7 separate regions of the Homo sapiens genome follow, and regions 2, 3, 4, 5, 6 and 7 are each linked to region 1. The links are contacts of gene promoters, found by promoter capture Hi-C in blood cells and fetal thymus (Javierre and others, 2016). All regions are on one chromosome and are shown on one strand. The core of a region is centred on a gene start or on the middle of the fragment in contact, and the rest is flanking DNA. Distances in the headings are between cores, read along the strand shown. Region 1 holds the start of NAA35 (N-alpha-acetyltransferase 35, NatC auxiliary subunit). Region 2 has its middle 8.4 kb from the start of TUT7. Region 3 overlaps AGTPBP1 (ATP/GTP binding carboxypeptidase 1). Region 4 overlaps TUT7 (terminal uridylyl transferase 7). Region 5 overlaps TUT7 (terminal uridylyl transferase 7). Region 6 overlaps AGTPBP1 (ATP/GTP binding carboxypeptidase 1). Region 7 overlaps ISCA1 (iron-sulfur cluster assembly 1).

Region 1 (3,749 bases), core at 872-3,371:
TTGCCCAGGCTGGAGTGCAGTGGCATGATCTCGGCTCACTGCAACCTACACCTCCCAGGTTCAAGCGATTCTCTTGCCTCAGTCTCCTGAGTAGCTGGGAGTACAGGTGCACGCCATCACGCCCGGCTAATTTTTGTATTTTTAGTAGAGATGGGGTTTCGCCAAGTTGACCAGGCTGGTCTTGAACTCCTGACCTCATGTGATCCACCCGTCTCAGCCTCCCAGAGGACTGGGATTACAGGCGTGAGCCACCACGCCCGGCCATTTAAAAATTTTTTAAACCAATTTTTGTGAAGTTCGGTTTACAAACAATAAAATGTACACATTGTAAGTATATACTTCAGTGAAATTTTACAAATGTATTCACCCACACAGGCACTACCTTAATCGAAAACAGAATATTTACATCACTTCAAATCAAGCTCTATCCAACTTAGTCTCTTCTTGAGCCCTGAGCAGCCACTAATCTGTCTTCTGTCACTATAGATGTCTTTTAAGAGCCTGGGGTCTCACTTGGGGAATCATACTCTTGCATTTGATTTCTTACTCTGTCGCCCAGGTTGGAGTGCAATGGCACCATCTCGGGTCACAGCAACCTCTGCCTCCTGAGTTCAAGGGATTCCCCTGTCTCAGCCTCCCAAGTGGCTGGGATTACAGGCGCACGCCACCATGCCTGGCTAATTTTTTTGTATTTTTAGTAGAGACAGGATTTCACCATATTGGTCAGGCTAGTCTCCAACCCGACCTCTCCACTGCCAGCCTCCCAAAGTGTTGGGATTACACGCATGAGCTACCAGCTACCAAGCTCAGCCTGATTTCTTTTACTCAATATATTTTTGAAATTCATTCATGTTGTATGTCAAGTAGTTTATCCCTGTTTATTGATAATTACATTCATTACATTGTATGGATATGCCACAAATTGTTTTTATTCAACAGTTGATGGACATTTGGGTTGTCTGTAGTTTTTGATGATTAAAAACAAAGCTGGGCCAGGCACGGTGGCTCATACCTGTAATCCCAGCACTCTGGGAGGCTGAGGTGGGCAGATCACGAGGTCAGGAGTTTGAGATCAGCCTGACCAACATGGTGAAACCCCATCTCTACTAAAAATACAAAAAACAGCCTGGTGTGGGGGCAGGCGCCTGTAATCCCAGCTACTCGGGAGACTGAGGCACGAGAATTGCTTGAACCTGAAAGGCAGAGGTTGCAATGAGCCGAGATCAGGTCACTGCACTCTAGCAGGGGCGACAAGAGTGACACTCTGTCTCAAACAAAAACAAAAACAAAGCAAAACAAAGCTGGTATGAACATTAACGTACAAGCCTTTGTATGAATATGTTTTTGTTCCTAAGTAAATTCGTAGATTACTGGATCGAATGATAAGTATATGATTATAAGGAGAGATTGTTAAGTTTTCCAAAGTGGTTGTACCATTTTGCATTACCACCACCAACATAACAGAGGTCCAGTTGCTCTGCATCCTTGCCAACATTTGGTATTATCTTTTCCATCTTTTAATTTTGGGCCATCCTAAAGAACAGGTGGTGATAAAGATGTGCTTCTTACCTGCGCCCGTCTATTTATGTAACCCCATTTAAAAACTGATCATTTTATTAATAAATTAAAAAAATCTAAAACATATAAGAATCTGAAATTAAATGTCTGGCTTGACTTTGCAGATATTTTGAATCTATGTTTCCTCACGAAACTCCCAGGCGCTGTATAGGAAACATAAATCCGTTGTCAGGCAGCAGTAGCACGCTGTTGCTCTCGGAGCTTGGCTGCTCGTTCGTGCTCGCAACCACTAAGGTCTACGCAAACCTCCACGGTTTCCTTCCGCCTTCGCGTCACCTTTCTAAGAAATTCCCAGAGGGCAGCGCAGACGGGGCGGGCTCTGAGACTCCGGGCTCCGCCTCTTTCCGGGAACCGCCCACTACCCAGGACTCCGACAGAGGGTGAAAAAAGATAACTTCCGGTCTCGCGATCGTCTCTAATCTCGCGAGAAGAGAAGGCGGCCGCCATCGGCCGAACGGAGGCGGTGGCGAGGGAGGGGGTGTGGCCGGGGAGCGCGAAGTCCCCGGGAGTAAGGGAGAGGGGGCGGGGTCGCGCGTCCCGGGCATACGCATGCGTGCACGCTGCCGGTCGGGCTGGGCTGAGAGGGGAGGGGGCGGCGGCGGCCGAGGCGGCGTCGTTATTTCCGTGGTCCGGACAGTGCGTGGCGGCGCGGGTGACCACGGGAGAAGTAGGTAGGGACCGCCCCTGCGTAGCCATTGAAACCCTCTCGCTCGTGTGTCCGAGAGCCGCAGCCCCCCGCGCGTGTGGCAGATCCTGGGGACCCCAGGTCACCCTGCGGCCCCGGCCCTCCCGCTGCGCGTCAGGTAGGAGCGGCGGGCTCCCCAGTGCCCGCTGTCGGCCGAGGCCCCACTCTTGCCCGGTGTTGCCGAGGCGACGACCCGGCGCCGGACGTGCCCGCCCTCCCGCGCGGCGACAGCTCTGTCCTTGCTTATGCGCCCAGTGGGACCGGGGCTGGGCTGGGCTGACCCGGGCAGGGCGGAAGGGAAGCGTGTGCCCGCCTCAGGTGTGCCTCGGCCCTAGGCCCGGCCGGCGGGACCCTGCGGTGCCTGCCGGCTCCTCATTGCTCCCGGCGAGGTTCTGCCTGGGTCCGGGCCGGCTCTGGCCCGGGAGAGGTCCCAGCGAGCTCTGGCCAGATGAAGGGCTACCTTGATTGACTTCGGTAGCTGCCGCATGGGGTCCTGGGCTGCGAGAGGGGACCCTGAATAGTGCCTTGGTCTTTTGTGGCTATTATTGAAAGTTGGAAGCTCTGGAGTTGTTCTTTTCGGGCCAGAGGTGAGATGGTTTGTGATTTTTCTTCTTAAACAGTAGGAAGGCAAAATGTTTATGGGCCCTGGTAGGTGGTGGGCTAATAGTAAGCAGCAGGAGTGTTAATTGACGTGCGATTTGATTGCATTAAGGTTATTCTTTGCAGTACTGTCCTTAGACTCAGAAGAGTTCTGCTTTAAAGAGTTTAGTTAAGACTTCATCCTATGCTGAAACAAACACCCATTTCTGCAAATACTCTTGCCCTGAAAGCTACATCCTCTCTCTTACATCAGTATTAATTTTACAGGCATAATGGTTATGAAAGCTTCTGTAGATGATGACGATTCAGGATGGGAGCTCAGTATGCCAGAAAAAATGGAGAAAAGCAATACAAACTGGGTGGACATTACCCAAGATTTTGAAGAAGCTTGTCGAGGTGAGTCTGATTTTTGGATTAGAAGTTCAGCATCTGGAAGGGGTAGAATGACGATTGTGCTTTCTAAACTTACCTCATTAGATGAAATCAACAGGTAAATGTGGTTTGTTGAGTTTGTTAGCCACACTTATTCTGTATCCTCTAATTTTAACTTTAAAGCAAATGTATATTTGATACAGCATTAAATACAGATGTTGAGGCAGTATTTTAAAATTGAATTTTTCTTGCTTTAACAGGTTAGAGAGAGCAGTAATTTCTAACTGTGGAAAACACTTTGTTAATCTAAAAGATAATAGTATTTTTGTATGTTTGAGGTTTCAGTATGATCAGATCACATCATTCCTTGTTTAAGATTGTCCAGTGGCTTCCTGTTGCAGGTAGAATAAAATCCACCCTCCTTCCCTATGGGTCTATAAAATCTGGTCCCTGCCTGCCACTCAGGTTTCATTTATGTGCCACTGTCCCCGCCAGGCTTATTACATTCCAGTCA
Region 2 (3,749 bases), core at 926-3,425, 420 kb after region 1:
TTCCGATTGGCTAATTTGAAGAGAGTGATGGAGTGAGTGGTTTGGCAGGAAAAATGGTTATGACAGAGCAGGTGATTGGAATGAGTCAGGGTGGAGTAGGTAATCGAAAAAGGTTGCTTTATGAGGAAGTTAAGTTTAAAAGTAGAAGGCAAAGAATTGAACATACTGACATATTGATTCTTTGAAAAGAAATTTAGGACTCATATCTAACAACCCCTCCTCTTCTATTTCCTTACAGCTTTCTTTTCAAACTTTTTAAACATGTCTTGGCTTAGTTGTTTTGCTTGATTTTGCAAAAGAAGAAGCTTCTCTGGATAAGGTGAGGATAGTTAAGGGAGGTTTTAGTGAGTGCCATTTTTATGAGCCTCTGCATCAACCTACAGATGCATGGTATGACACAGCAGCCAGCAAGAATAAGTACACCTATTATGACTGTGAGGGAAGTAGGAATTGTGGCTACTATTGCTTTCCATTTACCGAACCACTTTTCTAGCCATCCTGTAAAAGGGTCATTTACCCCTGAGTTGCGGGCTAACTTGTTGGATAGAGCAGTCAGACCTTGCGATGCTTTTGTTATACTTCCATTAGGGGCAGTGTTGTTTGGGATGAAGGTGCAACATTGAGTTTTAATCATGATGCAAACTCCTAATTCTAGTGTAGTTAATAAATCGCTATTGGTTGTAGTAGATGTAGTTTATCCAATCTACATTTTTATTAATTGTCACCTACCAAAATATTGATGCAAATCCTACAGCTATTTGATTTTAGGCTTTAAATTGATCTGGTATTCCCCATGGGACTCTAATTGTGTCTAAATAGATGTGAGAGTCAAAAGACCCATAAGGGGCTTCTCTCGCTTTATGATGTCTTATTTTTCCTTCCTCTGGTTGATGAAATGCCAGGGTGAAAGGGATAGCCAATTGAACTAAAGCACAAATGCCACTTCAGTTATTTGTCAGAGTGTCCAGTAAAGGTCCACCACAATACCACCACATATCCACTTGGGGATGAACAAGGGCTGACTGATTGATAAGCTCTTGAAAATTCTTAAGCTCACTGCATCCCTTCAGGTCTCCAAGGAACGCTGTTTCCTCCCTGTTGTGAGAGACATGAAGTGAACTTAGTGTTGGGAGACGGAAGCTGGATAGCCCTCGGGGGCTGACCCACAGGGTGCCAGACTTCGGGATATAGCAGAGAGGGAGCTTGGCACAACTTATTACTCTAGGCTGTAGAATCCTGGAAAAGAGCTGCCATGCAGCCTATGCCTGGTCAAGTGGAGGGTCACCCTAGTGGAAAGGGGACAGTCTGGGACTCTGGCCTGCTGTGCGTACAAGCATAACAATTGCTTTTGTTTAATGTGCGGACGGAATATTTGATCTATTCCACCAGGCATTTGCATCTTGGTATCCTTGGTATCTTTGGTATCTTAATTGCCAAAGTTTATTTTAAGTCTTTAACTTTTATGATCCTCTAGTAAAATGAATGTATGGTTTAAGGAAATTACAAAAACCGGTTGGGGCAGTCCATCCTTGCTCTTCAGTGGTCCACAGAACGTAGGACCAACTACGGCATAAAAGCTCTACATCGGGGGCAAGACTCCTGGTTGACACTGGAGTTTTATCGACATCTCCCCGGATTAAATGCCCAGTCTGAGGCCCAGTCTGAGGAGAGTCAGGAAGGACAGAGGTACTTTTTTGAAGTAGAGAGCTGTCTTTGACTTGGCAAGTCCCCACAGGGTATAACAAAGCAAGCATCAAATGCAATAGTTTGAGGCGAAATTGACTTTGTTATGTTATAACTAGACGGTCAGCAATAGAGCGAAGAAAGAAGCAAGAGTAATTGAATAGATGAAAGAAAGTTAAATTTTTCTTAGCTTTAGTTTGGTAGGGTTTTCCCCTGGGACCATGGCCCACGACTCTGGGTGGGGGGGCGGGGGTGCGGGGGGGGTGGCCCTTTCTTGACTCACGTGTGATGAGTCCATCCTCTTTTCGTTGTATGAACAGCAGTCCCGGTGGTTAGCAGCCCAAGGTAGGGTCCTTCCCAGGCTGGCTCGAGTTTTCTTTCTTTCCACCCTTTGATGAGAATGTGATCCTCAGGCTGGTGCTGGTTTACTGGAAATTCTAGGGGTGGTACCTGTGCTAAAAGACTTTTAGTTTTGGGGGAAAGGAAAGAGGAAGATAAACCAAGTATATAAGGTCTAAGAAATTGATCTTTTGTTTTAAATGCAGGGACATCAGCATTGGACATTATAGTCCTTGGTGCCTTCTTATTAAGAAATTTCCTTTAGCACCTATTTTTATTAGTTTTTAGACCAAAGAAAGCCAAACACCATTTTATATTTGACAATGCTTCCTGTATGACTTTTATACCAGATAAGCTAAATTTCACCTTTATATTAGTGTGCTATTAATGTTAAAATCAATTTTAATAAAACCGTGTAGACATATTTATCCAATTTTAACATCTAACCATAAGATAAGATTTTCATAGACTCTTTTTAACCTTTTATAATTTTTGTTAAAGAGCAGGTTAGTGCTTTAAGAAAAATCCATTGTGCTTTTATTTTAATGTCCAGTTCACAGAAAAACTGGATGATACCTTTTTAACTTTAGCCAGTGTGTTTACACACAGAATTTCCTTTATAATTAATGTTTTCAAACTTGCTTAAACCTTCAAAACAAAGTTTTTTTTTCACCTTTTAATGTAGGTAAAAATCCACATTCTTATGCCTCTTTATAATTCTTTTACTAAAAGTATATTTTACTTTCCTTATACACCTTGCACATAAACTGTTTCGTCAATAGTTTTACATTCAGGACGCCTAATTACTGTTACATTATACAACATTTCTTGCATAAATTCCCTTTTATAACACATTTTTTTTCACGCTTTACAATATCTTATTTTTCCTTCCTCTGGTTGATGAAATGCCAGACAATTCTTTGACATGCCTCAACTTTCTGACTTGTTGCAAATGTCCCTTTCTTTAAACAAACAATTTATTTTAGGACAAGAATTTACCATATAACATTCTTTTTACATAAATTCTCCTCCCCCATCCTTTTTTTTTCCCCAAAGATGATAACCATTCTTTTCCAAAGCGAACTTCCTTCGGGTCTGTGGATTAGATTGCCTAAGGCCACAAGATTAGAAGTTAGGATAATACATGTTACACTGTTAACTTTTAGCAAGTTTTGCTTTTGTTGAAAACCTTGTGAGTTTGGGATTTCAATTATCCTTTGCTGTTAATAAGACCTTGTTTAGTCCAAATTAACTTAGAATTGGTATAGATGGTTCCTTCCTTGTTCTGTAAGTACTTTAAGGCTTGGCTGAGTGCAAACAGCTCACACGTTTGAGCAGACCAACTGTTGGGCAATTTTCTTAACTCTATTTCTAAGAGAGTTTCTCCATCAATCACTGAACACCATTGTGTCTTTTTCCCTCAATCACCAGGGAGGAACCATCTATGAACGAGTGCCGTCCAGTCCGGAAGGGGGTTTCTCCTGGGTCTGGTCGAACCTTTGTATGGTAATCAATTAAATCTAAACATGTATGTTCATTCCTTAGATTTGGATTCTTTGTCAGGAAACTTGCTGGGTTGAGTGAATTTTCAGTGGTCAATGTTAAATTATCCTTTTCTAACAGAATGGCCTCATACTTAAAGATTCTCGAGTCAGTAAGCCATCTCCCTGCTCTTTGGTTTAAGATAGTTCTAACTTGGTGAGGCTTGCTTACTGTCAATTTTCCTC
Region 3 (3,749 bases), core at 642-3,141, 380 kb before region 1:
TGAAAAGGTGAGTAGAACACATCTGAAGATCCTAGCATTGTCTGTGAAGAGGCAAGAAGAGTAATTTTTATTATACTCTAATAAACCAAATATCCATGTTATCATCTCTAGAGTACCAGTAAAAGAACAGCAAAAGAGAATGGAACAAGCTTATAGAGAGACAAAATTGGAATAACAATAAAACTTTTTGAATTAATCTCAAAGAAGGTGAGAAAAAAACATAAAACAAGTGAAACCAATAGAAAACAAATACAGTAACTTACAAGCTCAGTTGTATTAGTAATTCATTAAATGGAAATGGAGTAAATACTCCAATTAAAAGACAAAGATGACTAACTGGATTATAAAATACAATTACCTGGTACATACAAGATTCCTATCTTAAATATAAAGAGAAAACTGGGACTAGAAGGATGGAAAAGATATTATGCAAAAACTAACCAACGAAAGCTAGGGCAACTACACCAATGTAAAACAAAGCTGGCTTTAAAGCAAGAAGCATTACCAAAGAAGAGACATTTTATGATAAAGAGATCAATCCACCAGAATGACGTAATGAAGCAAAAGTTCTACACATCTACTATAATAATACATAAAGCAAAAATTGACAGAACTTAAAAGGAAAAGTGGACACATTCGCAGTGATAGGGGAAACCTGAAAACATCTCTCTTAATACCTAATAGAACAAACAGATCCAAAAACCATTACAATGTGAAAAATCTGAACCACAGATTTAAAAACTTGATCTTATCAGGAATATATGGAATCCTACAACCAGCAATTAAAGAATATACATTCTTCTCTAATATGAATATAACACTAAATATGTATTCTTCCTTATGCTGATATATTCTTATTTTGAAGTCTCAGACACTTATTGTGAGAGAAATAACTTTTTCTCCCAAGAGGCTACCAAAAATATAAATAGCCATAAACATATACAATCATCAAATTCCTTACATAGCTAAGTCTTCCAGACTAATAATCACTAATTTGATACCTATCTACATCTCAATTATAAGGATCATTTACTTATGACAAGGCTCAAAGCTTTCATTATAATCAAATCTGGTCTGGGATCCCGAGGTGCTCACATCAGTCCCAAACTTATTTATCTGGATGATTTCAATCTCTCTATTTGTGGGTACAACAGCATTTCATCTACTCAGCACAAATACAAATGGAGCACTTTTAGTTATAAGCAACTACGATTTCCAAAGTACAAGAAGGTATGATATGATCTCCAATTACATGACTTATCTGCCCAGAAAAATCTCAGTAGTAATTACAGCGCTAAGAATTTTCTATGTAGTAGCAATAAATGATTCCCAGAAATGCAAACCAGACTCAAGTTATGTGTACCACAGCTATTAGAAAGGAAAATCTTTTTTCTTAATTTGCTTAATTAAATGGTAAATTATACATTAAAAATAAGGCACATTAATACCAGTAAACTTTACCACATAGCTAAGTATTAGACACTACTGTTAACATTTAGCCAAGAATTACCTATATTAATTTAATTTTCTCAGAAGACAGAGTTCCTATATATGTATAAACAAACAAATACTAGCTTCACATAAGGAAAATACAGATAACAGAGGTTAACATTTCATTCTAGTGTTTGCTAACGGTCTATAGCAACTATTATCTTTGTACTATTTTACCAATATCTACCACTCAGTCTCTCTCATAATGCTGGGGACAGGACTACAGACTTTAGCTGAAAAATAATATGATGGTAACTGGTCCACAGACTCATAGTGTTCCCTATACCTTATTCGAAAAATATCAAAACATACCAAATTAGGTTTTTTAAAAATGTTAAAACAAAATATAACTAATGCTAAGTATTTTAAAGGCTTTCTTTGGCTTAAGTTATATTTATTAGTTGCATCAGGAACAATTTCTCATCAAATTTTCTAATGTCCATGCTGTAGGTATGAAAAGGAATTAAGTAGTGACACATGCTACAATATGGATGAACCTCAAAAGCATGCTAAGTGAATGAAATCAGACACATGAAGGTCACATATTGTATGATTCCATTTCTATGAAATATCCAGAATAGGTGAATCCATACAGACAGAAAGGAGATCAGTGGTTGCCAGGGGCCAGGAGTGACTGCTTAATTGGTATGAGGGTCTCCTTTGGGGGTGATAAAAAGGTTTTGGAACAAGACAGGGTGATTGATGGCTGCACACCATTGTCAACATACTAAATGCCACTGAATTGTTTGCTTTAAAATGGTTAATTTTATGCTCTGTGAATTTCATCTCAATTAAAAACTAGATCCAAATAGTATTTTTGATTATATGTCAGTAATTAGGCTTCATTTAAACATGGGTATATTTTTAATTATGATAAAACATTGTGTAGATATTGCTATCTTTCAACTTCACTTACCTATAATTTTTTTTGAGCCAAGGTCTCATTCTGTTACCCAGGCTGGAGTACAATACAACGACATGATCTCGGCTCACTGCAACCTCCACTTCCTGGGCTCAAGCAATCCTCTCACCTCAGCCTCCCGAGTAGCTGGGACTACAGGCACCTGTCACCAGGCCAGGCTAATTTTTGTATTTTTTGTAGAGACAGGGTTTCACCACGTTGCCCAGGCTGGTCTCAAACTCCTAGACTCAAGACATCTGCCTGCCTTGGCCTCCCAAAGTGCTGGGATTACAGGCGTGAGCCACTGCACCTGGCCATCCTATAGTATTTTAAACATGCTCAAGCTTCAAATACTTCATCCACAGACCTGATATCCTGAAATTTAGTCACCACTACAATATCCTAATAAATAACTATTAAATGTTTCATCAGTCTCATTCTCAAATCATTTAAATGAAGGTCACTGAAACTGTTTAATAGTTCAGATAATAGATAAAATAAAAATGACTTTTGCTAAGCACAAAAATACTACATAGCTATTTGCTTTTATGAGTCCTACCAGTATTTCCAGCTTTGACCTGAAAGAGAAACACCTACCCCAGGAAAAATGTAGTGTTGCATCAGATGGAATTTTTATTATACAACACAAATGGGTAAAATTAAAATGACTTTTGTTTGGCAATTACCAATAAATGCCCTGGGAATATATAACATAATGAATAGTCGACAGTGAGCATTATTGAAAAGAAAGTTCTATAACTTCTGGTAAACACAGAGGATCTAACAAAAGCATTTATTTCTGATCCCTTCTCAAATACTACTAAGATGACAGTAAAAAAAAAAAAAATCTTTTTTTTTTTTAAGGATAAATTCATAGGGAGAAAATAAATTCAAGAGGAGGTAACGATGAGACAGGAATAACACAGGGTGGTCACAGGAGAATAGAAAATTCCAGGCAGCAGTTTCACATGACCAGCAAAAAAGAAACTGCTGAAATGGCTGCAGAAACTAGGGACTGATAAGACCCTGAAAAACCAGGTTGACCAACTGGACCCAACATAGCACTGGAATTGACCTAGGTTTCACCTAGGACCTCATCATATGCTCATGAACATACTAAGTCACACACCCACCAGTGTCATGACAGTTCCAGGAACACCCATATTTGGTGTAAAAGTGGGTAGCACAACAGTTCCGAGAAATCTCCACCTTTTCCCAGTTATCTTCACGAATATTCCACCTTTTGATTAAAGAAATCCATAAAGATAAAAATCCCAAACCCCACTGTGGGACTGTCTCGACTATGCCTGCAGTCCCCTTTCTTGAGTGTGTACTTTTGTTTTGCAATAAATCTCCG
Region 4 (3,749 bases), core at 887-3,386, 380 kb after region 1:
TATCCTGGCTTATAACAGGCCATGCATTTTTGTAGCAAACTTTTCAAAAACAATTATATAACCTGGTCCCTTCTTTCTGGGGCCTGGATCTGCTTACACAGCAGGAAGAATAACACCACCAACCTTTACATAGCCCAGCTAGCCAGGGAAGTGTGTCCAGGCTTCAAGTAACTTGAATTTTAATTTTTGGCCGGGAGCGGTGGCTCACGCCTGTAATCCCAGCACTTTGGGAGGTCAAGGCGAGCGGATCACTGGAGGTCAGGAGTTTGAGACTTGCCTGGCCAATATGGTGAAACCCCATCTCTACTAAAAAAAAAAAAAAAAATTAGCTGGACATGGTGGTGCATGACTGTAATTCCAGCTACTCAGGAGGCTGAGGCAGGAGAATTGCTTGAACCCAGGAGGTGGAGGTTGCAGTGAGCTGAGATCGCACCACTGCACTCCAGCCTGGGTGACAGAGCTAGACTTTGTCTCAAAAAAAAAAAAATTTTTTTTCTTGGCAGAGTAATGGAAAATTTAAATGGGGAAAGATATTTAATACTAAGCTTTAAAAAGAAACCTGCTGGCCAGGCGCCATGGCTCAAGCCTGTAATCCCAGCTCTTTCGGAGACTCAGTTGGATGAATCACTTGAGGTCAGGAGTTTGAGACCAGCCTGGCCAACGTGGTGAAACCCTGTATCTACAAAAAATATAAGAATGAGCTGGGTGTGGTGATGCATGCCTGTAATACCAGCTACTTGGGTGGTTGAGGCAGAAGAATTGCTTGAGTCCAGGAGTTAGAGGCTGTGGAGAGCTGATATTGCGCCACTGCATTCCAGCCTGGGGGACCGAGCAAGACCCTGTCTCACCATCACCCTCCAAAAAAGGAAACCTGCTATGATTGCTATGTATCTTGATGCAACAACTATGCTGTTAATAAAAGGAAGTACAGAAGGCACTTGATATTAAAAGAAAAATAAAAGATCCTCCATTTGCCTGAGCCCAGGAGTTCAAGACTAGCTTGGGTAACACAGGGAAACTGTGTCTCTACAAATAATGAAAAATTTAGTCAGGCATAGTGGCATGCATCTGTGCTCCCAGCTACTTGGGAGGCTGAGGTGAGAGGATTGCTTTAGTCTGGGAGGTCGAGGCTGCAGTGACTCATGATTGCTCTGCTACACTCCAGTCTGGGTGACAGAATGAGATCCTGTCTCAAAATTTAAAAAAAAATTTTTTTTTAAATAAAAAAGATCCTCCCTGCATCTCTCCTCATCCTTCTTTGACATTTATTGCATGTCCCAAACAGAACAGACATGACATGGAACGCTTGAGGATACAATGGAGAATGGAATAGACTTGGTCCCTAATAATGTTTAGAGACCTAAATAGGATAGTGATTCTAAAGACTCGAGTAAATGTCAATTTAATATTTTGACAAATCAAAAGAAATGTGAATAACTTACTATAACACTGGATACAGACTTGATCTAAGATATTTAAAAACTTGGGTGTTAATGGTGGCAGAGGTTCTAGCTGGATTCTTTTGAAGTCTTCAGGACAGTCCTTCTTTAGATGACCCTCTCGTTTGCATAAGCTGCACACTACCGTAGGAGACTGCAGGAATATGGCAAAGCAAAACAAGACTTAACACTTTATTTGCCAAATAAAGGAGTCTGGAATCATGTTTTAAAAGTACACAGTCACCTATTCACTTTCCAAAGGAAATGAAAATATAACATGCATCCACTCAAATGATCTGAGAGATGGGGACATCCTATAGTATCATTAGGAGAACATAGTGGCTATTTTCACTACTAATAGCATTCCCTTCCTCTGCTAATTCCCATGAGTCTTAAGGAGAAAAGCAGACCGAGCAGTCATATCAGAATGAAAGGCCAACTTGTTCAACACTACCAAAATAGGAAAATTCCTAGTATATAAAAATTGAAATTAAATGCATTCAAAGTCCTTAAAGTCTCCTAGTTCTATGACTAGTGGTGGTACTGATTACCTTGCCTTTGGTGAAGATAAGTTTACTGAATTCATAAAAAAAATCAGACTGATCCACAGGTGAATTTTTTTCTTCACATACATTTTCTTCCTTGAGACTTATTTTATTAAGTTCCACTAGGAGAGCTCTTTCTACATGTTTTCCACATTCTTTCACGTCTTCATACTTAGCAGCTTCGCCTAACTCATCATCCTCTTCAGATAGGGCGTCCTCATCCCCTGACCCAGTGTAGGTGTTGTCTAACTCATCTTCATTAGCCATGCCATCTTCATCTTCCCTTTGGTTAATGGTGAGCCTAGGTTCTTCTTCCTCCTCCTCTTCTTCGTCGTCCTCCTCCTCTTCATCAGAGGGAATCATTTCTGATGTCTGGCCCTGTACTGAGTGGGTAAAGTGGTTTAGAGAGTCTTCTAGTTCCTCAGTACCTTCTGTACTTTCTCCATCAAGATCAGCCTTGTTATCTAAAGTGGCAAGTCCCTCACACTCTTTAGCTGTGGGATTTTGGAAGCCTTCTAAATCCAAAGTGCTCTCTGACTCATTATTACGTGTGCTGCCACAGACAACATGCTCTCCACGTTTCTGATCAACAGTCAACAGATGCTTGCCCTTCCTTCCAACTTTCTCTTTCTCGTTTTTCCTTCCTGTTTCTGGATGGTATACTTTATCACCCTTGTAATCATCAGAGTTAACATCTGCTTGGATACAGTCTGAGTTTTCAGGGTGGACACTGATGTGTTCATTTCCCATTTCTTCTTTTGGTGGGCTTCCAAAACTTTCAGCAGTCTCTTTAAGAGTAAGTGGCTGTACCTTACAGGTATTTGCAGCTGAACTGGTAGCACCAGGACCTTGGGCCAAAACTGAGTTTTTGAGCTTATCATCTTTTGTTTGTACATCTGGATGATGATTTATTACTTCTTTAGAATGTTCTGAAATACATGTAATTGCATTCAGAGGCTTTAGAAGGCTGGATTTTGTAATTTTGTGTGGAAGAGCAAAATACTTGTATGTTGTCCTTAAACAATGAAGTATATATTCAAACACAGGTTGACTATTTAGGGTTCTTGCCACATTTCTTTTAACAGAGTAGGGATCTGTAATAAAAAAAAGAAAGAAAGAAAAATCCATCTCTTCATATGTTACTATATTTCATGTTTTAAAAATTAGCCTGCTGCAGATAAAAACAGACAACAAACAATGGTAAAATTTATCTTGCATTTTATAGACTTAAAAAAAAACTGGGGGTGGGGAGTAAGAAAACAGAGTTTAAGAACAAAAAGCAGTATTTTCTGAAACATCGGCTCTATGAAGGGAACCCATTCTGTTCAGAACCAGTACCCCTTCTCCCTATTGTGCTCTGTGACTGTGGAGGTAGAAAAGATGTTATCAGCGTGGCTCTCAGGCCCTTGGGAAGGAAGATCTTCCCACCAGGCTCTGCTGCTGCTGAGTGCTCTGCCTCCCCACTCAGCCAGGCCCTGTGGTTTATCGAGCTTACCTCCACTCTTCTGCCCTGGGAAGCCCCATCACTGAATTGGCTGGACTGAATTTCAGGGGCGAGAGGGAGGCACCAGGAGGAGACACCACTTCTCTCAATCTTTTCTCCTCCCCTAGAACTCCAGCAGGTTAGGCAATTGGCCAGAAGAGCTGAGCCACAGAAACTGCAGGGGAGGGTTTAAAAATGTGAGATCCCCATGACTGCACACAGAATTTATGCAAAATGCAAAAAACCCTCTTATGCAACATAAAGCTTGAAAAAAAAATCAAG
Region 5 (3,749 bases), core at 709-3,208, 360 kb after region 1:
TGGTTTTAAGATTTATGCTCTTAAAATGTCAAAATCATTTCTCCCTTATCCTAATAATCACTGATTTTTGAGTAATGAAAAAAAGGACTGAAAAACAAAGCTTCTCAAATTCCAGATGGTAACCTAATTTGAGCACCATGTTTTAAAATATTGCTGTACAGTTAAAAACACCACCACTACCACCCAAAACAACGTATCCCAAGGCAAGCAAGCAAAAACATGTCTCTCTTGCCCCCCAATAAACGCCACCAGAAGAAAGCATGGGGACTAAACTGCATGGCTTACCTACTCACAACAATTATTAAGGGTTAAGTGGAATACAAACAAAGAGTGCTAAAATCCAGTGAACTGTTTGTGAATATATATCCCAACGTGCTGAACAGTTACTGTGCATTAGAGATGTAACTGAGATCCTGAAGGAACTCATTTGACTGTTTACTGACTGAAATGATTCTGAACTTCTCACTACTGTAAAAAGGAAGAATTTTTGTTTCCTCTTTTCACCATGTTGGCAAGGCTGGTCTTGAACTCCTGGCCTCAAGTGATCCGCCTGCCTTGGCCTCCCAAAGTGCTGGGATTACAGGCATGAGCTACTACACCTGGGCTTTTTTTTTTTTTTTCTGAGACAGAATCTTGCTCTTTTGCCCAGGCTGGAGTGCAATGGCGTGATTTGGGCTCACTGCAATCTCTGCCTCCCGGGTTCAAGCGATTCTGCAGCCTCAGCCTCCCAAGTAGCTGGGACTACAGGTGCCCGCCACCATGCTTGGCTAATTTTTAGTAGAGATGAGGTTTCACCATGTGGGTCAGGCTGGTCTTGAACTCCTGACCTCAGGTGATCCACTCGCCTTGGCCTCCCAAAGTGCTGGGATTACAGGCGTGAACCACTGCACCCGGCCTAAAGTCATGTTTTAAATCACTTCATTTCATTAAAAAATAAAATAAAAAACTTAAATGTATCTGAAAACTGCTGGATTTTACACAAGTGTATTTTCTTTGTTATAATAGTACCTCATTTAAAAATTGGGACATTAAGAAAATAAAAACACAACCAACCCCTTTGAACATTTACTTACTTTCTCCTCATAGGACAGTCCTTCATGAAGTGTCCGATTTTTCCACAAATTCGACAACATCTATCATTTGGGGCCAGCTCTCCTTCAGTTAACACATCTGGATCAAAAAAGTATTCCTAGAAGAACATAAATATATAAAAGCCTGAACTATTCACGTGAGATCGGAACACAAAACTAACCAGATATTAAACAGTTATCTTACAATTCAATGTTGATATAACATTACTTTTAATAAATATTATTTATACTGCTTAATTCCAAACAAAATCTAAGACCATCAAGGTCTAACTCAGGATAGTTTTAACTAAATCCATTTTTGTTTATTCCTTTTAGTCATGCAGAGCACTCGTGAGCCCTAACCCTAAAGGTTTAAGCACACTTCTAAAGAAGCGGATGAGTCAGCTTTTCAGGATGTGGGAGGGAGTTGAGGCCAGGTACACAGGCTTTGTCTCCTCATCAAATGAAAAGGCTAAAACATAATGAATTGAGAAACATGATTTGCATCATACAGATTATATTGAAGAAAAGAAAAAAAACTATGTGTTTCTACTTTGCTTAGTTGTGGCTGCTGAAGGAAAAATAACAGAACAAAGGAAAGATAATGGTCTAGCCTGTAGCCTCTTTGTACTAAAATTAAGGTGGAGGCCAGCAACATGAGCATCCCCAGGGAGCTTGCTGGAAAAGCAGTCTTGAGCCTGATCCTAGACCTGCTGAATCAGAATCTGCACTTTAACAAAATCCTCAGGTGATTTGTTCGAACAAGTTTCAGAAGCACTGGTGTAGAAGCCACATCAATATCTACCATAAATCAGATGTACAGATGTAATCAAACACTGAATGTGCCTATAAAGCAATACACTTACGTTAAATTTTAAAAGTCTTCACTGGGAGTACAGAGGGAATAGGGGGTTGCTGGTCAAAGGGTACAAAGTTTCAGATAGACAGGAGGAATAAGTTTTGAGATCTATTGCGCAGCAGGGTGACTATAGTCAATAATAGTGTATATTTCAAGATAACTAAGAGTAAATCTCAAATGTCTCCCCACAAAAAATGGTGAGGTGATATATATATGTTAATTAACTTGATTTCATCATTCCATATACATGTATCAAATCATCACGTTGTGCTCCATAAACTGTATGTCAATTAAAAATAAGAATAAAAAGTATAAGGAAATTAATGCAGAAGAACATAATATTATTCTTAGCAAGATCATCTAGTCCCTAGCCATTTTTCTCTCACTGAAATTATTTTTTTGACATAATTTTGCTTTGTTTTCAATAAATGTGGTTCCTGAAAAACTCGAGTATCAAGTTACATGAGAAGAGATAGCTGTCTGCTACAGGAAGCACTGTTAACCCCCTAGTCCCAGCAAAAGATTTACTACTTTTTGCAAGCAGATTGGAAAATCTAGATTCTAGATATGTACAAACTGGGCTTGGCCAAGGCTGGCATCAAGCCGAATGCTGGCAGAACAGCAATGCACCTATGAAGGCTAGCACAGATAACCAGAAAAAAAAAAGGCATCAAAGAGGAAAACAAGAATTTAACAACCTTAAATCCAACTTCTTACTATTTCTCTCTATTCTGATGGCCTCTACCCGGGGATGTTTAAGAAAAAGGGGGGCTCTGGGAATCATTCTGTACAATAGTCATTTACTTTGGCTAGACTCACAGACTTTCTAAATATTTAAGTTACTACTGAAGTGATGTGTACAAATTAGGCACTTTTTTTTATTTTTTATTTTTTGGTATTTCCAACACACTTACCATTTTTGAGGGGTAGTCCTTTGGAAATCCCTTGACAGGAATACCAAATACTCTTCTACCATTGATAAAAGCCTTCATTATAAAATTTGTCACTAAAAAGAAGAGTAAGAACTCACTTAGGCGGGTTAAAAGGAAAAGAGATTGTATTACAAATGACAAACTACCTGGGCCTGGTGGCGCCTGTTATTCTAGCACTCTGGGAGGCTGGGGTAGGTGGATCACTTGAGCCCAGGAGTTTGAGACCAGCCTGGGCAATAAAAGCAAGACCCTGTCTCTATTATAAAAGTAAATACATAAGTAAAATAAAAAATAAAATTGACAAACGAAGTAACTCACTTTTCCTTGATAATCCAGCTCCAAGATTATGATTCAAATCAAAGGGATCTAAGCAAAAAAATTTAAGAGCAAATAAGGTAATCAAATAGAAAATGCCACCATTCATCCAATAAGTAAAGTTCATAAAACAAGACAAGAATATCATCTACTTTGCTTATCATTAATAAGTTTTAAATTCACATGATAGAAAAGAAGTGCAAAAAAAAGTTTAAAATGACACCTGTTAAATGAGCTTAGAAGTTATAATAAAGCTAAGCAATACATATTCCTAAACAGAAGGCAAGTTTTTCCACTACACTGTTCATCAGAATAGAGTGTACTACTTTATATTTAAATCATTATAAAGCTCTTTATGTTATGACTGGCTGCCTATTTTTGAACAAAATACTGTTTGCAGAAGACACATTAGCCTGATATTACTTAATGACACTAGTTTTGGATGTATATAGAAGTTATAAATACATTTAAAACATTTTGGCACTAAATGTTCCCACTATGTAACAAATTTCTTAAAGATCACTTCAGAAAATAATTCATGATGGAGATTACAAAACACACTTATAAAACACA
Region 6 (3,749 bases), core at 530-3,029, 330 kb before region 1:
TAATACTTAATATCAATGCATCTGATAAGATCAACCTCCTACATAAGGCAGAAACTACAGAAGATATAAGCAGAAATCGACAGGGACATACTATTGATATAGTCTTCAAAACACCACTCTCAGAATAAGATAGAACAATTGAACAAGAAAACAAAATATAGAGAACCAAATGACATAATCAATGTGGCAATTTTTACATCTAAATGTCAAATGTCTCATCCTGATACAGATGAAAAATATATCTTCTTATGTGAAGAAGATATATTCTTTATTATCTTCTTCTCAACAGCACATGATACATTCATAAAAATTGATAATATATATGACAATATATTATCAGCAAATTTTAAGCAAAGATATCTTCTTTGCTTGGAATTTGATGATAATATATTAAGATATAATATAAGATGATATAAGTAATATATCTTCTCAATAGCACAATACATTCACAAAAACTGATAATATATTACATCACAGGGAAAACAACACCAAATTTCACAAAACAGAAATATTACAAACTCTGGTCACAGTGTACTAAAACTAGAAATTACAAACAAAATGAAAAAAACAAACAGGGAGGGAACCCACGCAGGAGGATGGAAGGAAGAATAATTTGGGATATCAGACCCTCAATAGGGTGGAGGAAGGCATCTGTCCAAATAGACAACAGGGAGATTATTACATAAACTGGAATTGATCAAACAAGTTAATATATTACGGACAGTGGGGCCCAAAATTATCTCTGTTGGAGAAGAAAGTTGTAAATATGGAAAGAAAACAAGAATAAAGCCTGTGTTATTTGCTCGAAAGTTAAGGTATAAGTATAATCTCATGGAGTGTATGTGTGTTTGTGTGATTATATACACACATACATAAATATGTACCTACAAATATGGAAACCACTACAAATGTGAATTACTGTGTAAATATTATGTATGTATTAAATATACTCCCTAATTGTTCATTGAGATAGTTTGTAAACAGTAATAACCCAATAGCAATGTGTATACCAAGTGTACAGATCTTTTTTTTTTTTTTTTTGAGATGGAGTTTCGCTCTTGTTGCCCAGGCTGGAGTGCAATGGCATGATCTTGGCTCACTGCAACCTCCACCTCCCAGGTTCAAGCGATTCTCCTGCCTCAGCCTCCCAGGTAGCTGGGATTACATGCAGGTGCCAGGCTCATTTTTGTATTTTTAGTAGAGACGGGGTTTCACCATGTTGACCAGGCTAGTCTCAAACTCCTGACCTGGTGATCCGCCTGCCTTGGCCTCCCAAAGTGCTGGGATTACAGACGTGAGCCACCGCGCCCGGCCAGATCTTGGTTTTTAAACATCATTCACTACTAAAGTAAAATGGCACTCTTTGAAGAAATGGCAGATTTCATTCAGGGGTAGAGAAAAGCAAGATGGGCCTTGTGCCAAAAAGCAAGGGCACCCATAAGGAATGACAGGGATATCTCAAAAGGGCACACACACCAGCATTAATGGTATCCCACTGGCCAAATCCTGGACAATTTGAATATCAAAATAAATAATGATAGCAACAAATTATAACTCATTGAGTCAAATAGGAAACCCAGTCTATACTGATAATACATTAAAAGCTTGAGAAGGAACAAGATATTTAGATAGTCTCAAAGTACCTCAATGTATAACACTAATTACAAAGAGAAGAAGGAAATGTAGGAAAGCCACACACCTAAATAATATTAAACTGTAAAGAGCACCCCAAAAGGCAAAAATGTATGAGGAACATTTGTCAGGGGGACTAATCCATTCTAGGGAGGCAGAGGAGACTTGAATTAACTAACGTGGGCAAAGCGGTGAGAATGCTACAGACTAGACTCCAAAATTGTACTTTATTGCCTGGTTCCAAACATGTTCAATTTATGTAAGAAGGCAGTTGAAAATCCTCAGAAATCTGAGAGAAACAAAGATGGAGAGAAAGTGAAAGAGAAGCTTGGTACTGAAGCTCCAAGTCACTAAAATGCAAGACTGCCATCTGGTGGTAATTTCAGCAAATCCCTTCCAAGTAATGGGGGGGTAAGAGGGGGTGATGGATTGAAACAGACACAGCACTATTTAGTGACACACATTCTCAAATTCAGTATTTCAAAGGCAGTATTCTCTTTACAATTGAAAATACAGTGTGAAACATAAATATTTTTAAACTGCTTAATTTTAAGATCATTCACTTGTGAAAACCACTAAGTATTCAATAGAATCACTTTTAAAAAGCTCAAAGAAAAGGACAACTTGAAAGAGAAGCAACTGCCAGCCTGTTCCTTTTTGGGGACACTGCCAAAGAACAAGACCTCTATTGGGCACATTTTCTAGAATCCAACACTTAAATAGTACCCCAACCGGCACGCCCCAATCAAAAAAAAAATTACAGACAATAAGCTACTCTCCTAACTGATACTACTTCCTCATTTCAATCATGTCTGACAATTAAATAAATACCTCCAGATGAAGAAGTTTCCACTGCACATACTTTCTTTGGTCATCAGCCCCCACCCTTAAAATGAATTATTGCTAGTTATAATTGCTTACAATGTTAAATTCTAGTTTACCAAAATATTGGTCCCTTTCTTTTAATTCTGTTAATGTTAAGACAAACCAAGATTTGCTTTATGTTGTACTGACCTAACAAATCTAAAGATAAGTTTAATAAAATATTACATCTACCTAAACAGCTCCCATAGCTTCTACTAACTTCCTAGTTAAATACTTACAAATACATGGAAATAAGAAGAAAACTCACAATAGACAACTTATCATCAGAATCTGGAAGGAATCTCTATTAAACTTAAGGCAGATGGAGCAAGACTGAAAAATCCAATGCAGAATATGCCTCGTGATCTGTATCTTGTGGTTTAGGGGCTTTTCTTTTTTTTTTTTTTTTTTTGCATTTTACATTTTGGATTCCACAGCTAAAATAAGTGTCACACTAAATAAAAAATAAAGAAAACAATAAAGAAGTACAAAAATAGAAAGCATAAAAACCCAAACACATCAATTGTAAGAATTTTAAACAGGTTAAACTCCTCTATTAAAAGACAAATGATCAAACAACAAAATCCAACCTCTTATTTATGAAAAAAAAAGCAAACATACATCAAGCAAATTCAAACCAATATAAAAACAGAATTCAAGGCAAAAGATGCTGAATGAGATAAATGTGATAATTTTATACTATTAAAGAGATATGCAAAAGGAAAATGGAAAACTTACAAAATTCTGTGTGCCAAGTAACATTGTATTAAAATAGAAAAAAAAAGTTTTTAAATGAAGGCTTGACAGAAACACAACATAATTGAAAGACTATTAAGTATTTTTAAGTCTTAGGTAGATAGAGAAGACAAAAAATAAACAAGGATATAGAAAGTTGAATAGATGTATAATATTAAATATGAAACAATATATTTTTGGGGGACAGAGTCTCACTATGTCACCCAGGCTGGAGTGCAATAGCACAGTCTCAGCTCACTGCAACCTCCACCTCCCGAGTTCAAGCTATTCCCCTGCCTCAGCCTCCTGAGCAGCTGGGATTACAGGTGTGTGCCACCAAGCCTGGTTAATTTTTTGTATTTTTAGTAGAGATGGGGTTTCACCATGTTGGTCAGGCTGGTCTCGAACTCCTGACCTTGTGATCTACCCACCTCAGCCTCCCAAAGTGCTGGGATTACAGGCATAAGCCACCATGCCCAGCCAAATATGAAATAATAAGAAATCTCTCTCTATATATA
Region 7 (3,749 bases), core at 418-2,917, 330 kb after region 1:
TACAAACTCATGAGCATTTACATAAAACTACCGCTCTAGGTTTTGGTGTGTTTTGTGTCAGCTACTTTAGTGAATAAACGAAACATAAAGGAACTCAGCTACTTGAATTCATGAGAATCAGCTTTCAAAAAAAGCATATATATCATCTCATAGAATACTTATGTCAAACCCAGGAAAATCAGTAACTAAGTGACAAAAGGAACACTTTTAAAGAAAAGTTGGTGATAAATATGTTAGGCTAAAATACTAAGAACTTTAGCAACTGGACCGAGGAACCAGAAAATGTATGCACACTGGGAATTTTAACAAAAGATTACACATTCTCCTGTACAGTGAGGACCACATTCCAAAAGCATAATTCTGGGTTGCTACAATGTCATCTCTGCTACAAACCATTGTTTCAAAGGTGAAAGAAACAAGATGGTAATTGACATAAAAAGGTTTTAAAATTCTTCCCACTCAAAATAAAATAAAAATAATATAATCTCTATCAAATTATAAAGAAATTCTATCAAAATGTTGACCACATAAAGAAGTCAGACCATTTGCCTTCGCTGACTGCCTCAGAGGGCAGAGCATGTGTCACCTACAAGGGGAGAGGGGGGTAGAGTCCCTACTCTCCCCCGGCCTGTGGTGTCAGGGTGGACAGGAGCCCTTTGGCTTCCCTGGGGTTTTGCTTCCTCACATAGGGAATTGATGGAGGTGGGCTAGATGGCTTTAAGAGACTTCTCAACTAAAAGAATCAAAGTCAGCTTGAGAGCCCATCTCTGAACAGACATATAGGGTGGCAAAAGAAATGGATTAAAAAAAGGCGGATGACGTCTTTCTCACCTTTTGATACCATCACTCAGAACTAATCTGTACTATAGTTGAAGAAAATCTTTGCCTGGTACTATTAAAGAGTATGCAGTGAGGCAGCTGACAATGAAATTTTTCATAAAAATGTATAAAAAGGCTATGTTAAGTTTGGGTGGAAAAAACAATGCACCACCATATTACTACCAGCAGTCACGATGTCCTGTCTCAGATTTTAGGAGTCACCGATCTGGTTGGGAGAAATGCTGAGGGATGATCAAGCCATCAATAGCGATCTAAGGAGTGCACACAGTTCAGGAAATGGATAAACAGGTGCCCAGGAAGGCAACTTTAATGAAACTGGTTCTAAAACAAAGGATACAAGAGACCTAAATGATCCAAAAAGAGTGATGGCTTCTCATTTTCTGTCCCCTATAGAGAATATAAATATCATTTCTTCTGGAATCCAACACACTGGATTCATTTTCAAGATGTATCACTTTATTTTCCAGCACGTGACAGTCACATGATTTCTGCAGTGAGCCCCAAAGCTTCCACGAGCTTTCCTGGAACCTACGGCCAGAAGAGTCCTGAGATTTCAAATATTAAAGCTTTCTCCACAGCCACAAGTCCCTTTGATGTTTGGGTTATTGAACACAAACTCACTGGATAATTTGTCTTCAACATAGTCCATTTCTGTTCCTAAAAGTGTTAGCTGTGCTTTCTTTTCGATGAATACTCTGACTCCTTGGAGAAAAGAAAACATGTGTCATGGAAAGCCTGCAGCCTTATGGAACTTGCTGATTCAAAGCACAAGTGAACTTGAAATAGTGACTATCAATGAAAGTCAAACAAGAAGCCTTGAACATTTTAAATTATTTCCTTAAGGAATTAAGCATTCAGTTTCCTGTCTGCCCCTTCTTTCCCACACATGAATTTATGTCACAATCACATTAGGGGAGAATTTTATACAAGTAAATTCCATGACAATTTTATGCAAAATTAGAATTTACCTTTCACTATACTTCACTCATTTTTCCAGTTTGCAACATGAAGAAAATGTATATTCTCGATGAGTTTTATGAAATAAAAAAAAATTTATGAAAATTCTGCAATACACTAGATACACGGATTCAAGCTTAAAGATGTACAAAGGACTGTGATACAATGGGGCTATTTTAATAACATCAATCAGTACAACAATAGTCTTTTCTGGTTACAGGACGGAAAACAGGTACTATTCCCTAGTAATTACACAGGTAGAGGTCAGCATCTTTGTAAATACAATCTTTTTTTTTTTGGACAGAGTCTCACTCTGTCACCCCGGCTGGAGTGCAGTGGTATGATCATGGCTCACCACAAGCTCCACCTCCCAGGCTCAAGCGATCCTCCCACAGGATTACAGGCACATACCACCAGGACCAACTAATTTTTTTAGAGTCAGGGTTTCACCACGTGGCCCAAGCTGGTCTTGCATTCCTGGGCTCAAGTGATCCTCCCACCTCGGCCTCCCAAAGTGCTGGGATTACAGGTGTGAGCCACAGTGCCCAGCCAACAAATACAATCAATTTAAGAAAGCTTTCTAGTCTGGGAAACAGGGCAAAACCCTGGCTCCACTAAAAATACAAAAATTAGCCGGGCACAGTGGTGGGCACCTGTAGTCCCAGCTACTCGGGAGGCTGAGGTGGGAGGACTGCTTGAGCCCGGGAGACAGAGGCTACAGTGAACCATGATTGTGCCACTGCACTCCAGCCTGGGTAAGAGAGCAAGACTCTGTCTCAACAAACAAACAAAACAACGAAACAACAAAAAAACTTTCTTCCTTACAAGAAATTGAGCCATTAGCTAAATATAAACAATATATAATTAAGTCACCTCTTCTTTAAGATGAAAATCTTAAGGTTTATAATGTGTTATAATTTTTAAAATAATACATTTTTAAAAGGTCTTTATTGATAGTTATAACTTTAGTTTAATAAGAAAGCACACTTAGGAATCTAGGCCTCATTCTCCCATGTAGGTAAGAACTGCAAGCTAAGTGCATACTTCCAATGACAAGATAAATTATTTATTTTAGATAGGTTTTAACAGATTATAGGGTGGAAGAAGGGGGCAGCAGCAAATATAATTAATTTTAATTATAAATTAAATTATAATAAATAGCTTTGAATAAAAATTGGAAATACAGGATTCCTCAAAAACATGAGTTGATAATACAGCTCCACTAAAAATACAAAAATGAACCAGGCATGGTGGTGGGCGCCTATAATCCCAGCTACTTGGGAGGCTGAGGTGGGAGGATCGCTTGAACCAGGGAGGTGGAGGTTGCAGCAAGCCGAGATCACACCACTGCACTCCAGCCTGGGTGAGAGAGCGAGACCATCTCAAATTAAAAAAAAAAAAAAAAAAAGGATTATAATGGAGCTGAAAATTCCCATTGCCTAGCAATGCTGTAGCCACCATAATATCACAAGACAACCCATTACTCAGGTGTTTGTGGTGATGCTGGTGTAAACAAACCTATACTGCCAGTCATATAAAAGTCTAAGCATGTTCAATTATGTACACTACATAATACTTGATAATGATAATAAATGGTTATGTTACTGCTTTATGTATTTACTATACTTTTTATTGTTTAAAATTTTAGAGTGTACTTCTACTTATAAAAAAAAAAGTTAACCGTGAAACAGCCTGAGGCAGGTTCTTCAGGAGGTATCCAGAAGAAGGCATCATTATCACAGAAGATGACAACTCCATGAGTGTTACTGCCCCTGACGGCCTTCCAATGGGATGAGGGGAGGTGGTGGAAGACAGGGATATTGATGAACCTGACCCTGTGGAGGCCTAAGTTAATACGTGTGTTTTTGTCTTAGTTTTTAATTAAAATGTTTATAAAGAAAAAATTAAAAATAGAGAAAAGCTTATAGAATAAGAACGTAAAAAATTTTTGT

Evidence for each region. The method cuts DNA at HindIII sites, captures the fragments that hold promoters and counts their contacts. A CHiCAGO score of 5 or more calls a contact.
Region 2: a contact is called between a fragment that was not itself captured here and the fragment with the promoter of NAA35 in region 1, in 6 of 17 cell types (naive B cells, neutrophils, activated CD4 T cells and 3 more). The highest score is 7.4, in naive B cells.
Region 3: a fragment that was not itself captured here is called in contact with the fragment with the promoter of NAA35 in region 1 in 1 of 17 cell types (neutrophils); the score reaches 5.6 in neutrophils.
Region 4: a contact is called between a fragment that was not itself captured here and the fragment with the promoter of NAA35 in region 1, in 7 of 17 cell types (total CD8 T cells, naive CD8 T cells, naive CD4 T cells and 4 more). The highest score is 7.9, in total CD8 T cells.
Region 5: a fragment that was not itself captured here is called in contact with the fragment with the promoter of NAA35 in region 1 in 10 of 17 cell types (naive CD8 T cells, naive CD4 T cells, total CD4 T cells and 7 more); the score reaches 12.8 in naive CD8 T cells.
Region 6: a contact is called between a fragment that was not itself captured here and the fragment with the promoter of NAA35 in region 1, in 9 of 17 cell types (total B cells, naive CD8 T cells, activated CD4 T cells and 6 more). The highest score is 10.4, in total B cells.
Region 7: a contact is called between a fragment that was not itself captured here and the fragment with the promoter of NAA35 in region 1, in 11 of 17 cell types (total CD4 T cells, naive CD8 T cells, naive CD4 T cells and 8 more). The highest score is 8.7, in total CD4 T cells.

The regions. Positions count from the first base shown.
Region 1 is chr9:85,939,025-85,942,773 of GRCh38, forward strand. It overlaps NAA35 (N-alpha-acetyltransferase 35, NatC auxiliary subunit), which reads left to right and starts at 2,122. Exons shown (of 23, transcript NM_024635.4): 1 at 2,122-2,249; 2 at 3,131-3,259. The coding sequence starts at 3,136. RefSeq lists a silencer at 2,026-2,705. The HindIII fragment of the contact is 5,629 bases long and covers 1-3,146 here.
Region 2 is chr9:86,360,959-86,364,707 of GRCh38, forward strand. No RefSeq gene overlaps it. Among named protein-coding and RNA genes, the nearest start is that of TUT7, 8.4 kb to the left of the region's middle. The HindIII fragment of the contact is 3,744 bases long and covers 304-3,749 here.
Region 3 is chr9:85,556,211-85,559,959 of GRCh38, forward strand. All of the region lies in intron 25 of AGTPBP1 (ATP/GTP binding carboxypeptidase 1), which reads right to left. Among named protein-coding and RNA genes, the nearest start is that of AGTPBP1, 180 kb to the right of the region's middle. The HindIII fragment of the contact is 1,685 bases long and covers 1,050-2,734 here.
Region 4 is chr9:86,320,883-86,324,631 of GRCh38, forward strand. It overlaps TUT7 (terminal uridylyl transferase 7), which reads right to left. Exons shown (of 27, transcript NM_024617.4): 13 at 1,991-3,078; 14 at 1,443-1,593. Among named protein-coding and RNA genes, the nearest start is that of TUT7, 32 kb to the right of the region's middle. The HindIII fragment of the contact is 3,186 bases long and covers 544-3,729 here.
Region 5 is chr9:86,302,013-86,305,761 of GRCh38, forward strand. It overlaps TUT7 (terminal uridylyl transferase 7), which reads right to left. Exons shown (of 27, transcript NM_024617.4): 23 at 3,180-3,227; 24 at 2,844-2,935; 25 at 1,074-1,189. Among named protein-coding and RNA genes, the nearest start is that of ISCA1, 21 kb to the left of the region's middle. The HindIII fragment of the contact is 3,720 bases long and covers 99-3,749 here.
Region 6 is chr9:85,608,267-85,612,015 of GRCh38, forward strand. The region is part of intron 17 of AGTPBP1 (ATP/GTP binding carboxypeptidase 1); the gene reads right to left. Among named protein-coding and RNA genes, the nearest start is that of AGTPBP1, 130 kb to the right of the region's middle. The HindIII fragment of the contact is 355 bases long and covers 1,603-1,957 here.
Region 7 is chr9:86,264,650-86,268,398 of GRCh38, forward strand. ISCA1 (iron-sulfur cluster assembly 1) reads right to left here. Exons shown (of 4, transcript NM_030940.4): 4 at 1-1,542. The coding sequence ends at 1,394. Among named protein-coding and RNA genes, the nearest start is that of C9orf153, 6.9 kb to the left of the region's middle. The HindIII fragment of the contact is 527 bases long and covers 1,405-1,931 here.